Linked DNA regions of Homo sapiens: region 1 is linked to region 2. Evidence: promoter capture Hi-C in human tissues and cell types (Jung and others, 2019). All regions are on one chromosome and are shown on one strand. Each heading gives the region's core, a stretch centred on a gene start or on the middle of the fragment in contact. The rest is flanking DNA. Distances are from core to core; before and after follow the strand shown.

The links. The method cuts DNA at HindIII sites, captures the fragments that hold promoters and counts their contacts. A contact is called where the count stands out against the background at its distance.
Region 1: a fragment that was not itself captured here is called in contact with the fragment with the promoter of PTPRR in region 2 in 1 of the 25 tissues and cell types used here (spleen).

The regions. Positions count from the first base shown.
Region 1 is chr12:72,157,139-72,162,856 of GRCh38, forward strand. It overlaps a transcript of TRHDE not described here. Among named protein-coding and RNA genes, the nearest start is that of TRHDE, 110 kb to the right of the region's middle. The HindIII fragment of the contact is 5,110 bases long and covers 1,035-5,718 here.
Region 2 is chr12:70,917,831-70,923,849 of GRCh38, forward strand. It overlaps PTPRR (protein tyrosine phosphatase receptor type R), which reads right to left and starts at 2,908. Exons shown (of 14, transcript NM_002849.4): 1 at 2,503-2,908. The coding sequence starts at 2,560. The HindIII fragment of the contact is 3,890 bases long and covers 1,360-5,249 here.

The DNA of each region.
Region 1 (5,718 bases), core at 2,340-4,839, 1.2 Mb after region 2:
GCTCTGTCGCCCAGGCTGGAGTGCAGTGGCGTGATCTCAGCTCACTGCAACCTTAAATGATGGTTCTAAAAAATCCAGCAGTATAGAATGTGAAGACAGTGATAGAAGATGAAGACAGAGAGGTAGCTAGGATCCTTGAAGGGCATGGTGAGGGTTTTAGTTTTGCTTCTAAATATAATGGGAAGAGATTAGAAGCTTTTGAGCAGAAGAGTGACATTATCTCATGTGTTTTAGGAAGATCATCTTAGCTGCTGTGTGAAGGAGCAAATGTTCGAAGTACAAGGATATTTAGGAGGCCATTATAATAGTTCAAGCAAGAGATGATGGTGGCTTTGATCTGGTGATAGTAGCAGAAGTGGTGAAACACTGTCAGGTTCCAAGTATACTTAAAAGGAAGAGCTAATAGGATTTGCTGATGGATTGGATATGGAGTCTTAGAAAGAAAGGAATCAAGTAAGATTCCAATAGTTTGACCTTATATACCTGGTGAATGGTGGTGCTAGTTTTAGAGTTGGGGAAGACCATGGAAGAAAATGGGAAGGGGAAAATAAGAAGTTCGTTTGAGTATTAAGCAGCAGATGCCTATTAGATTTTTCTGTGAAGATGTTGAATTGACTGTTGAATATACAAGCCTGGAACTCAGGGTCAGGTCTGGAGATGGAAATTTGGAGATACTGACATTTGGATAGTAATAAAAGCTGTAGAAATAGATGAACCAGATAGGGAGTTAGTTTAGCAGGGAAAAGAGAAGAACATTGAGAAAGGAGCCTGTGATTTGGAGATCAGATGGGAAAAGGCAAGAGGTAGGAGAAAGGTGAGAAAGGTGTGGCATCTCAAAAACTAAACTGAGTATTTGAGGGAAAAGGGCACGATCAGTGTGTCAAATAGTGCTGGGGAGTCATATAGGAAGAGGACTGAGAATTGACTGCTGGATTTCATATGTAAAGTTCACAATGTTCATGCAAAAATGTTTTGGTAGGAGATGTCAATGAAAGTCTGACGGAGAGGGTTTGGGAAAGAAAAGTGAGAAAATTGCAAGAGGATATAGGCAATGAATTTTTTTATTTTTTCTGTAAAAGGGATGAGAGGAATGGGATGAAAGCTAGAATGGAATACAATGGAATACAGAATCAAGAAAAGTTTGTTCTTAAACCAGCACTTGTACCCCGTGAATCTAAAATAAAAGTGAAATTATATGTATATATATAATATATATGTTTCATACATTCATATGTGTATATATTATATATATCTTTCATACATACTTATATATGTAGAAGAGCAGGCTCATTTGTTATGATGTGTGTGTAATTGCCTCTTTGTGTCTTTCAGTAATTCTCACCTTTTTATTGATTTATTAGTATTATTTTTATATTAGAAACAATAATTGTTTATCAAATATGTTGTAACTTTTCATTTGGGTTGCCATTTATTATTCAGTCTTATTTCTGGTATTACTTTTTAAATACAGTCATAAATTTGTATACAGTAAAGACTATTCATCTTTTTCTGTTTCAATTCTTGCTTTGGTGTTTATGTAACCCAGATGTCAGGTTTTCTTTCAGAATTAAATAAGATTTGCATAATCCTCTGTTCTGTTTTGTTGGAAGCCTTTCCTAAGATATCTGCAAATTCCTGATGGCTTATATCTTATAGCATTTTCTGACTTCATGAACATCTGATTTTCTGAGTCTATTTACTTCTTTTTGATTCCATGCTAACTTATTCACCATTCCTTGAATTTCTCAAAACCCATTCACACAAGAGATTGAGATTTATTTATTCTTACAAATGGCCAATCAATGTGCCAAGTGCTGAATACCCCTCTTCTGCCTTAAATGCCATTTTAATATATTCAGAACTTCTACATAAGCTTGGGTCTGATTCTAGATTCTTTAGTTAATTCTGTTTGATCTGTCAGTCTACAATATGATTTTAATTACAGTAACTTTATTTATTCATTTATTTAATATATTTATTGACTATGTAACATGTACCAATCACTAGCAAATGCTAAGAACACAGTGGTCAACCAGGCAAATATGGGTTTCTCTTTTTGTGAAGCTTAAATTTTAGTAGTAGAAAGTTACTGATAATTAACCACAGAATATGTTGAATAAAAACAAAAACAACAATAATTGTCAAGAAACACATACTTAGAGTACAGTAATAGTAATTCAATGATCTACTTTGTAGAGGAAGATCAGGAAAGACTTCTGATACTTTATTTAACATTAGACCTCACAACAGAAGGATGGGAATGACCCAGCCACATGAATTCTTTCAACTAGGCAGCGATGAAGCTAAGGCAATGGCAGAACTTCACTAATATGTATGTAGATGACATGATTCTTCTTCTTAGCAGTTTTGTATTTGTTAACCTTGAACTGCCATTTCTTCAAGATGATATATAATTATTTTTGACTATATGTAGGGATTTTCAAATCAGATATCTAACTTTGGCAAAATACGTTTGAAAATGTTATATCTTCCAATTATTTTGTTTTCTTCAGGCATGCCAACTAGCTATACATTGGACCTCTCTTGCTTTCACTTCATATCCATCTTTTTCAATTTAATTTTTTTCTCATCCTGTCTTTATTTCTGTATGATTTACTCAAGTCTGTCCTCTACATTATGGATTTTGTTTTCTCTGTCTTTTCTCTGCTTTTCACTGCTGCAAATACTATGTTAAGTTCTCCCATGGTGTTTCTTTTTTCTAATTTCTTTCCTTTCCTTTCCCAGTTCTCTTTTCATCTCATTTTGTTGTCATATTGTCTCATCTTACATCTCTCATTTTATAGCATTCTTGATCTTTCTAAGTGCTTTAGAGGTTAGTTATTTTCTAAATCTAATTGTGAAATTATCTCCTCCTAATTGTGCTCTTCTTCTACCATTCATGCCATGCTTTTATTTTTTCTTCTTTAAGGGGACAGAATTTTTGCATAGGTTTGATGTTCCTTTCTTCTTTTTCCTCTGCTATTTATTTCAAAAAAATTCTCTCTGGTTATGTTACATACCCACATTGTTGGCCAAGGTTTCTTGGCTGCCCTCCCTGCCTCTCTGATTTCCATTTGAATACTGCTAGGAACTAAGTTGGAACTCACAGTCAGTCAGTGGCTCTCAAAGTGTGGTCCACAAAACAGCAGCATAAGCATCTTCTGGCACTTACTAGAAGTGCAAATTCTTAAGCCCCCATCCCAGGTATCTTGAATCAGAATCTCTGGGATAAAACCCATCAATCTATATTTTAAAAGGACCTCCTCGCGGGCATGGTGGCTCATATCTGAAATCCCAACACTTCGGGAGGCCAAGGCGCGTGGATCACCTGAGGTCAGCAGTTTTCAACACTAGCCTGCCAAACATAGCAAAACAACATCTCTACTAAAAATACAAAAAAATTAGCTGGGCTTGGTGGAGGGCACCTGTAATCCCAGCTACTTGGGAGGCTGAGGCAGGAAAATCGCTTGAACCTGGGAGGCGGAGGTTACAGTGAGCCGAGACTGCGCCACTGCACTCCAGCCTGGTGACAGAGCGAAACTCCATCTAAACAAACAAACAAAACAAAATGAAACAAAACAAAACAAAAGAAAAAACTTCCTCATGATTCTTAGGAGTATGAAGTCTGAGAACCAATGGTTTAGATATGTTTCCCTGCTCCCTCTACCCCACGTAGTTCCCATTTTATTTATGTTCATGCCACAGTTCTAAATACTAGAATTCTGGGGCAATGTACTTCAAATTTATTACTGTTTTGTTGGCAGTATTTAGTGTTATATGGGTGTTTGAGTAGAACTCTTCACTGTCCTGGAATTCCTTTTCATATATTCAATACCAGAGATTTTTTGGTTTGTTTTAGTAAATACAAAATTATTTTTGGTTCCTCTCACCTCTATCTCCTTTCTCACTGGCTGCAAATTGTACCTGTATTGTATGACCTGCTCCTCTTAGTTGCTGATAGACTTTGCCACTAATAGTATGTGTTATTAGTTGTAGCAAATAAAAAATTTTGCCAGCCAGCTGCAGTGGCTCATACCTGTAATCCCAGCACTTTGGGAGGCCAAGGCTGGCAGATCACGAGGTCAAGCGATAGAGACGATCCTGGCCAACATGGTGAAACCCTGTCTCTACTAAAAATATAAAAGTTAGCTGGGCGTGGTGGCACTCGCCTGTAGTCCCAGCTACTTCGGAGGCTGAGGCAGGAGAATCGCTTGAACTCGGGAGGTGGAAGTTGCAGTGAACTGAGATCTCGCCACTGCACTCCAGCCTGGCGACAGAGCGAGACTCCGTCTCAAAAAAAAAAAAAAAAAAATTGCTGCATTGATCCAAATTTGGAAGAATATCTGTGATGTTAGCTATACATCAGTATGCTGCTATATACATTTAAGAGCCAGTGGTTTATATTATGTGTCTGGTCATATTGATTTTTGTGGTAGGTAAGATGAGAACTAGAGCCATGCTCCAACATAAGAGCTTTTTTTTCTGGGTTATCTGTGGGTGAACTGGAACTTTTGTACTGGAAGATAAGCTTTTTAGATTTGAGAACATATCCTGCTTTGTTGGCAGAAGTATAGGGAGAGGATTGGTTTATTTTCATATTTAAGAATGAGTTGGCTAATTTGGTGTGATGTCAAATGAAAAAGAACTTCCATATGGCAGATTACAAAGGAATCCAGGAAAACTTTTAAGGCTAACAGATATGTTTATTTGATCTTGATATGTGTTTTCATGGGTATGAACACTCATCCCATTGTACACTTTAAATATAGATAGTATATTGCATATTATGCCTTAATAAATCTGTTTTAAAAGCTCCATGGGTTTTGTAGGCATGTCTATACAGTTTGCCCAATAGTATGGTTTGTGGATGTGGATCATTTACTATGGCACTTAGTAAATTTTCCTGTCTTCCCATCATCCATAGGACAGAGAGAAAGTATGGCAAGACATACTGGCTTTGTTAGGCCTATCACTGTGATTTTTGAAGTGTTTCTGATACTCAGTGAAAAACGTACTACAAGATATTTTGGCTAACATTCATCCTAGCTCTCTTCTTGTATGCTGAGAATGGAAAGCAGAAACAATATTCCTAGACTCTTTAGAAATATTATTGCATGAGACTTTGATTAGAAGAATGAATGTAGCAGACAGAGGTAGAATATTGGGGCACAGGTTGCTGCAGAGGTGACATGGTTCTGGAGCCAGCATATTAAGTGGTGACCTCCTAATGTGGAGATGGTTTCCTGATCCAGATTCTTCCTGTCACAGTGGTGGCAGTGTTTCAGTCACATCAGAATTAGTATGGTTTTGCAGTCAACAATAGTGCAAATAGACTCCTGATTTATTATCTTCCTGCATTGGCGATGGTTGCTTTTTCATTCACAGTAGTGGCAGAATGTTTCTGAGGGCTAGAAGTTGGTCCTGGGAGATTAGCCTGGAGCCAGTTCCTCCAGCTGTTCAAATTTATGTAAGCACTGAATTCCCTACATAAAACTCTTTCTGCTTAAACTAGTTAAAGTGGATTCTGTTGTGTGCAATGGAGCTCTGAGTGATAAAGTAATTAGCAGAAGTGGTTGCAGGCAATAGAACATAAAAAATAGGACTTTATTGTATGTACAGGCTATTATGGCACTGAGTGAGCAATTACTTAAATTATCACTTCTGGTTATCTGAAATGCTATTGAAGGCAAGGATTTGGAAGAGAGAATGACTATTGTG
Region 2 (6,019 bases), core at 1,658-4,157:
TTAGCACATTCCTCCCATCTCTAAAGCATTATAAGGTGTCATCAGTTCCACCAGCATAAAGCAGTTGCTGATACCCTGGGCGTAACCAAAATGGATCAATTAGCTTTACAGTTAAAGAGGCCTGAATGTATAGAATTCATTTCCCTTCTTTATGAAGTCAGCCTCTGTTCTGAGAGAAAAGTCTTCCATAAAAGTAACAAACTCACACCTTCAACAAGTAGAGATTAATATCTTGATTTCTTGATCTTTGTCATCCCATCCACTTATTTTCTTAATCTCCAAATGTATAGAAGCTTAGACCAAGGAGCTGTGTTTGTTTTAGTTCTGATGAAAAGCCCTAACAATGTTATTAGATAACTGTGATAAATTTTAATCTGATGACAGCTTGTGACCCACAAATTGCTGTTTAAAATTAAAATGCATTTAAAATGAAATTGGCAAGAGAACTATAATATTAAACTTACAATCTGCTGTGATAAAACACCAATGTATTTTACTATATTAAATATGAATACAATGAATAGTATCTTGCAATTGAAATATAAAAATGTCCTTAAATGCATTTTCTTATTAAATTAAAATTGGTTGATTAATCTTACTTTTTATCTTTGTTTTGCAAATTAAAAAGTTGAAGTAGAGATGGATTGGATTGGCTTTGGTAATATACCCTTTGGCAGAACTCCAGGTAAAATCTAGGGCTACAGGCTTCTAGGTTTCTCATCTGATGAGCAAAAGTCCTCATTTTTCTCATCCCGAATATTCATCTACAGTAAATCAAGACATGTTTTTCACATGCTTCAGTTTATTTATAACTTTTAAGATATAATTACTCAAGATGTATCAAATGTGATCTTTAAACTTTTTTATATGTTAGTTTTGAAAAAATGACTACACTGATATTGTTGGCAGACCAGCTAAATCATTGCTACCTTAGTAAGAATTGAGATTTTTCTGTAATGAATGTTTGTGTCAGTCTATTATTAAGCAATACTATAAATAAAACTCAACCCAATGTGTATGTTTTCATCCCACATTTCAGCATTGAAGAATTGTATGTGGTAACGAAATAATTCACTACAGCTGTTTGCAAATAATTTAATAATCAAGTCATAGCTATTTTCTACTTCTCAAAATGTGCCAAAGAACTATTGAAAACTCCACAATATAACATCATAATTATAACAATTAACATGTGTATTTAATAATAGCTTTAATAATCCTATGCATTATTTGCTCAAAAGATTCATGATACATTTAAATAATAGCGTTAGCTGGAATAAGAAAGTACCATATTTCACTCCTACTATTGTACACAGAGAATAAAATTCACCCACTCTTTTAAAAAAGATACTGCAAGGATTGTAATTTCAGAACAATTATTTTTACTCATTACCCCTAGAACATAGTATACACTCAGCAAATGTTGCTTGAAGGAATGAATGGATATGTGTGATTGGATGAGAAGCACACTCAGGGAAAATGCCTCGTCTCTGGTTGTTACAGGACTACTGCATGGACAACTGCTGTCACAGTAGGGTTTCTAAAATCTCCCTGCCATATTTTATTTTGGTTCATGTGTGTGTGACAATGATAAGGAATTCAGCCTAGCAAGTCTGTCTGCATTAAATAGAGGTGCTATGTATGCAAAAAGCAGGGACACCACATATAATATCTCTCAGGTACTTCCCAAGGTTTGCTTCCTCACGAGACTTGATATTGATTCTGGTGCCTCAAATCTATTTATATTTGGGAGCAGTCTCACTGTTACTCTTGGTTACACCTTATCAAATCTGTCCGAGGGACAGTGCCTAACCCAGGGTTGTCAGCTTTGGAACTGTAATTGTTTTTTTTTTTTTTTTTTTTTTTTTTTTTTTTAATATGCCAGCGGACGCTAGCCACGGTGCTGAAAGAGACAAGAGGATTCTATTTGAAACCTTTTCTTCCTCTTATTGGCTTAGAAAATTCGAGTGACAAGAGCAGGGGCCAAAGGAGCCTGGTGCAGCATCACTAATGTGAACCATGTATTTCGATCTTTTGGGCGGAGATGTGGTCCATCAGGTTACAGCCAATGCCTTCCTATGAGCGCTCGCTAGACCAAGAGACCTTATGAATGTAGTAGCCGCTGCAGTAGAAAAGGTTACATCTAGCAGGATGTCTTATCCCTCTCCTGAAAAATTGACAGTTAAGTGCATAGCCTAGAAACAAGAGCAGGGAATCTAGACGGAGGGGAGGCGAAGGGGGGAGCAAACCTGTATTCATATTGAAAATGTTCACTATTTTCGTATAAAGTAAAGAAAAATCAAGAGCTAATTTTAGGTTAAGTTTTCGGCCTCAGTTTTCCAACAGGTGCACGACTCCCTCACCCCTTCCCTGTCAGGTACTGTCCTGTTTTACCTTTTTAGAAAGGCTTTCTTCGCAAGGCAAGCTTTTCCTAGAGTCCTTAAGCATGTGCAGTTTCCCATCTCATGCACAGCTCCGGCTCTAAGCCTGGCAACCCCTTACCTGCAGCGTGAAGATTAAGGAGCAGGCACAGCGCAGGGAAGCAGACTGCTCTCCGCATAGTGTTTGCATTGAGAGGTGGAGGAGAAACTCCACCACGACCCCACTTCAGGTAAAGTGCTATTAGAAAGAGCCACCGCCAAGGGTCTTCTAGTCTCCGGGATTCAGGTCCTCGGCTGGGGTTTGCAGAGCAGTCAGTCTGTGGCGCCGACAGAAACCAGCACCAGCTTCAACCTCCCTAAGAGAGGGAGAGAGGAAGAGCAGTAGGAGGTTGCGGGTAAGGGGAACAGAAGCGCTCAGAGGCGGCAAATGCCTGGCCTTCTGGACGCCCAGAAGCCAAGGCGGAGACGGCAGGGTGGACTCCGCGCCAGCCCAGCAGCCCAGCAGCAGCGCCGCGGCTACTGAGCATGCCCAGCGCCGGCCCTCACGAGGCAAGGGAATTTCAAAGTGAAATTCCGCTTCTCCGGGTCTTAGCGGCGGCTTGGAGCAGAGTAGGCTCCATCGCTGGGGTGGTGGTTGGGGGTGGGGGTGGGGGTGGGGAAGGGGGAAGTGCGGGGGAGACACTTGCTGTGGTTACTAGGGACCCAGCGTCCATCACAAATCCGAAGGTGGGGTGTAGCTGAGTGAGAGTAGATGGGGGCACGACCACAGGAGTCAGAGGAGGGAGCTGATGACATTGTCAACCATGCCACCCACCCTACTCTTTCCCCAAATCTTGATTTACACGTGGACCGAGCTCACTGCTGGGAATTGGCATTTGCAGATTGACCAGCTTCCCAGGACTCGCCTACAGGAATAGAGGTGTCTTCCACTGCTGAGCATTCTGGCTGCTCGGGGGAAGCGTTCCCAAGGCAGCTTGCTTGGTGTAAGCAGTAACCATGTATCTTGGGGGTGACTTCGTCCTTCCTACAGCTTCCCCCTCTTTGCTTCTCTTTCCACTCTTTCCAGCTCAATGACTGTATTTAAACTTTCTTCTGACTCAAGTCCTCACAGTGACAGAAAGAAGTGAGAAGATACTTTTAGACTAGTAGAATATATCCATGTAATTGAAGCACAAGAAGGCACCTTTTTGTTTCGTGGAGGTAATTAACTTTAGTTTCCCTTTTACTCTTTAAGGTGAAAGATAATGGATCACGTCAGTGCCTGGACTCATCCGGCCCAGCTCTGTGTCTCTAGGGAGGCTACCACAGTCTGCCATTAGATGGTTTTTTATCCCTCCATCTAAGTCTTTGGAGTGTGGAAAGCCTTATTAGTCATGGCTAATTGCTGCTAGTCAAGTCAAGAAGTCCCTCAGCTAGACTTCTCTTTTAACTATCCCAGGGCCTCTGCCCTTTCTGCCTCTGTGTCTTTATGGACACTGTTGCCTCTTTCCCATTTTCCTCCACTTGCACCACCACCACACTAGTTTTCGAAGGTGTAATGTTGGTCTCACTTTTCCAGAAAGCCCTAACTCTAACTAACTCTAGATTACAGTGATCTTTCTCTTCCACAACACTTGTTTAGCCGTGCCTCATATTATTCTTTCAGACAGTTCATTTATCTGTGGTTTGTTCTACAGCACATTGAAGTCTCCATAAGAACTGCTGAGTTTTGTATTCCATTAACTTGAATAAAGTTGTCCTAGCCAAATAATTGGGGCTAACAAGTGCCCATTGAGTTGAGCTGCACATCTCATTCAGTGCTTTCTTTCTCCATCCTCTGTGAATTGAGACAACTAATGGGAAATAGGCTATCCACCAGAGCTTAAATTAGGTGGGACCTTATAAGATCAGAGAGCCCAGGCGGTACCATTTATTTCTTTTATGATTTATGTCATCTTCAGCTCTGAGAGACAAGGCCAGGAAGCACTCCAACAAGTGGGAGAAGGGGACAATGAGATGTACTTTTAATATCTTGACAGGCCTTCTCTGCTGAAAATAGAGACATATCTCCATGTCTAGCCCCTCTCTAGCAACGTGCTCCACCCCCTACTCCCCCATGCGTGTGGCACACTCCATTTCTGTGGCACTATCATTTCATCCCAAACCACTCTAAGCTGCAACCTCTTCTCCTATTCCTGATTCACTGTCCTCCAGTTTGCTTTTCCCGTATCACTTTCTAACAAACCAAAATAATTACTTATAAAATCTATTGTTTAGTATCTATTTCCCTACTCCCCCCCGCAAAACAGAATTTGAGCTCCAATGTTGAAGAACTTTGATGACTTTATTGATATGTCCCAACTCCCTAGAGCAATGCCTCATGCAAAATAGATACTCAAAAATGAATAAATGAAAATGATAGTTGACAAAGTTCAATACTGACAATTAACTCTTTGAAATTCTTACTGAGTCAACCTTTGAGATAATTTATTTAGCATTCTGTAAAGCTTAGAAGAATAACTCTTCTCATCTAACATCTGTTACTAGAAATGCTGCAGGGCTGGAGGTTAGGGAAAAATAATTGTATCCCACTTACAATAGGTCTATTTTTCTTATTTTCTTGTTTCCTAAAATAACTAATTATCAAACTTACATAGATCTCCAAGAATAAAATATACTTACTTATGGTAATGAAACAATGCTGCAGTAATGTTCTGAACCCCTTCCTTTTCCACAGATAATTCCAACATTTATTGGTGGGGCATTTAAAATTCCCATTATTATAATTGACTATGACTTTGCCAAAAAGCATCCTGCTGGCAATGTATTTTGTTCAGGGCTGCAGGTAGCTGAATTGTTAAACTATGCATGAAAATTCCGTTAGCAGCAAAAATTTCCAATTTCCAATTTGGCTGGATATATCATTAGAATAGTTAGTTCAGCATGGTAAAAATAACCCTGAGTGGGCTGTAATTTTGGTGACTAGACATTCATTATTAATTTACTTAGAAATGATAAAGTAACGAAAAAGGTCATATTCCTATGTGAGTCAATCTAATATCATACTTGTAACGGCTTCAATTCACTTTTTCACTAATTGGCTAATTCACTCATTGCTGTTCGTGAAGTCAAACAGCAATGAATGAATTAGCCAATTAGTGAAAAAGTCAACCACTTAACTCATACAGAAATATTCTGAGTCGATAGGTGCTGTTTTTCCTTAACTGTGATCTAATGCTAGTGAAGGTGACTTGGTGTTTTGGAAAAAAAGCTTGGTTAAAACACTGCATCAGGGTTTTAAAAAGTTAGCTGTAATTCAAAGAAGCATGGAAATTACTATGAGAGAACTATACAAATTAGTAGTGGCCTACAGAGCTATGTCATAAAAGAATCATTTACATTTTACAAGATAAATAAAAAATATCATATGGAATTTTCCTCCACATAAGATGCATAATTTCTTTTTCTTATGAGGTGAGTCTTAGAGAAAATTTATGCAAGAAAGAAGCTTTTCAGAGCCTGCCTTCAAAACAGATTTAATCATTATGAGCATCCATATTTACTTCTCTATAAATGGATGAAAATTATTCATGTCAGCCATCTTTCCTTAAGACACTTTAAATTGAGAAATCAGATCCATTGATTATAAGGATCTCCTA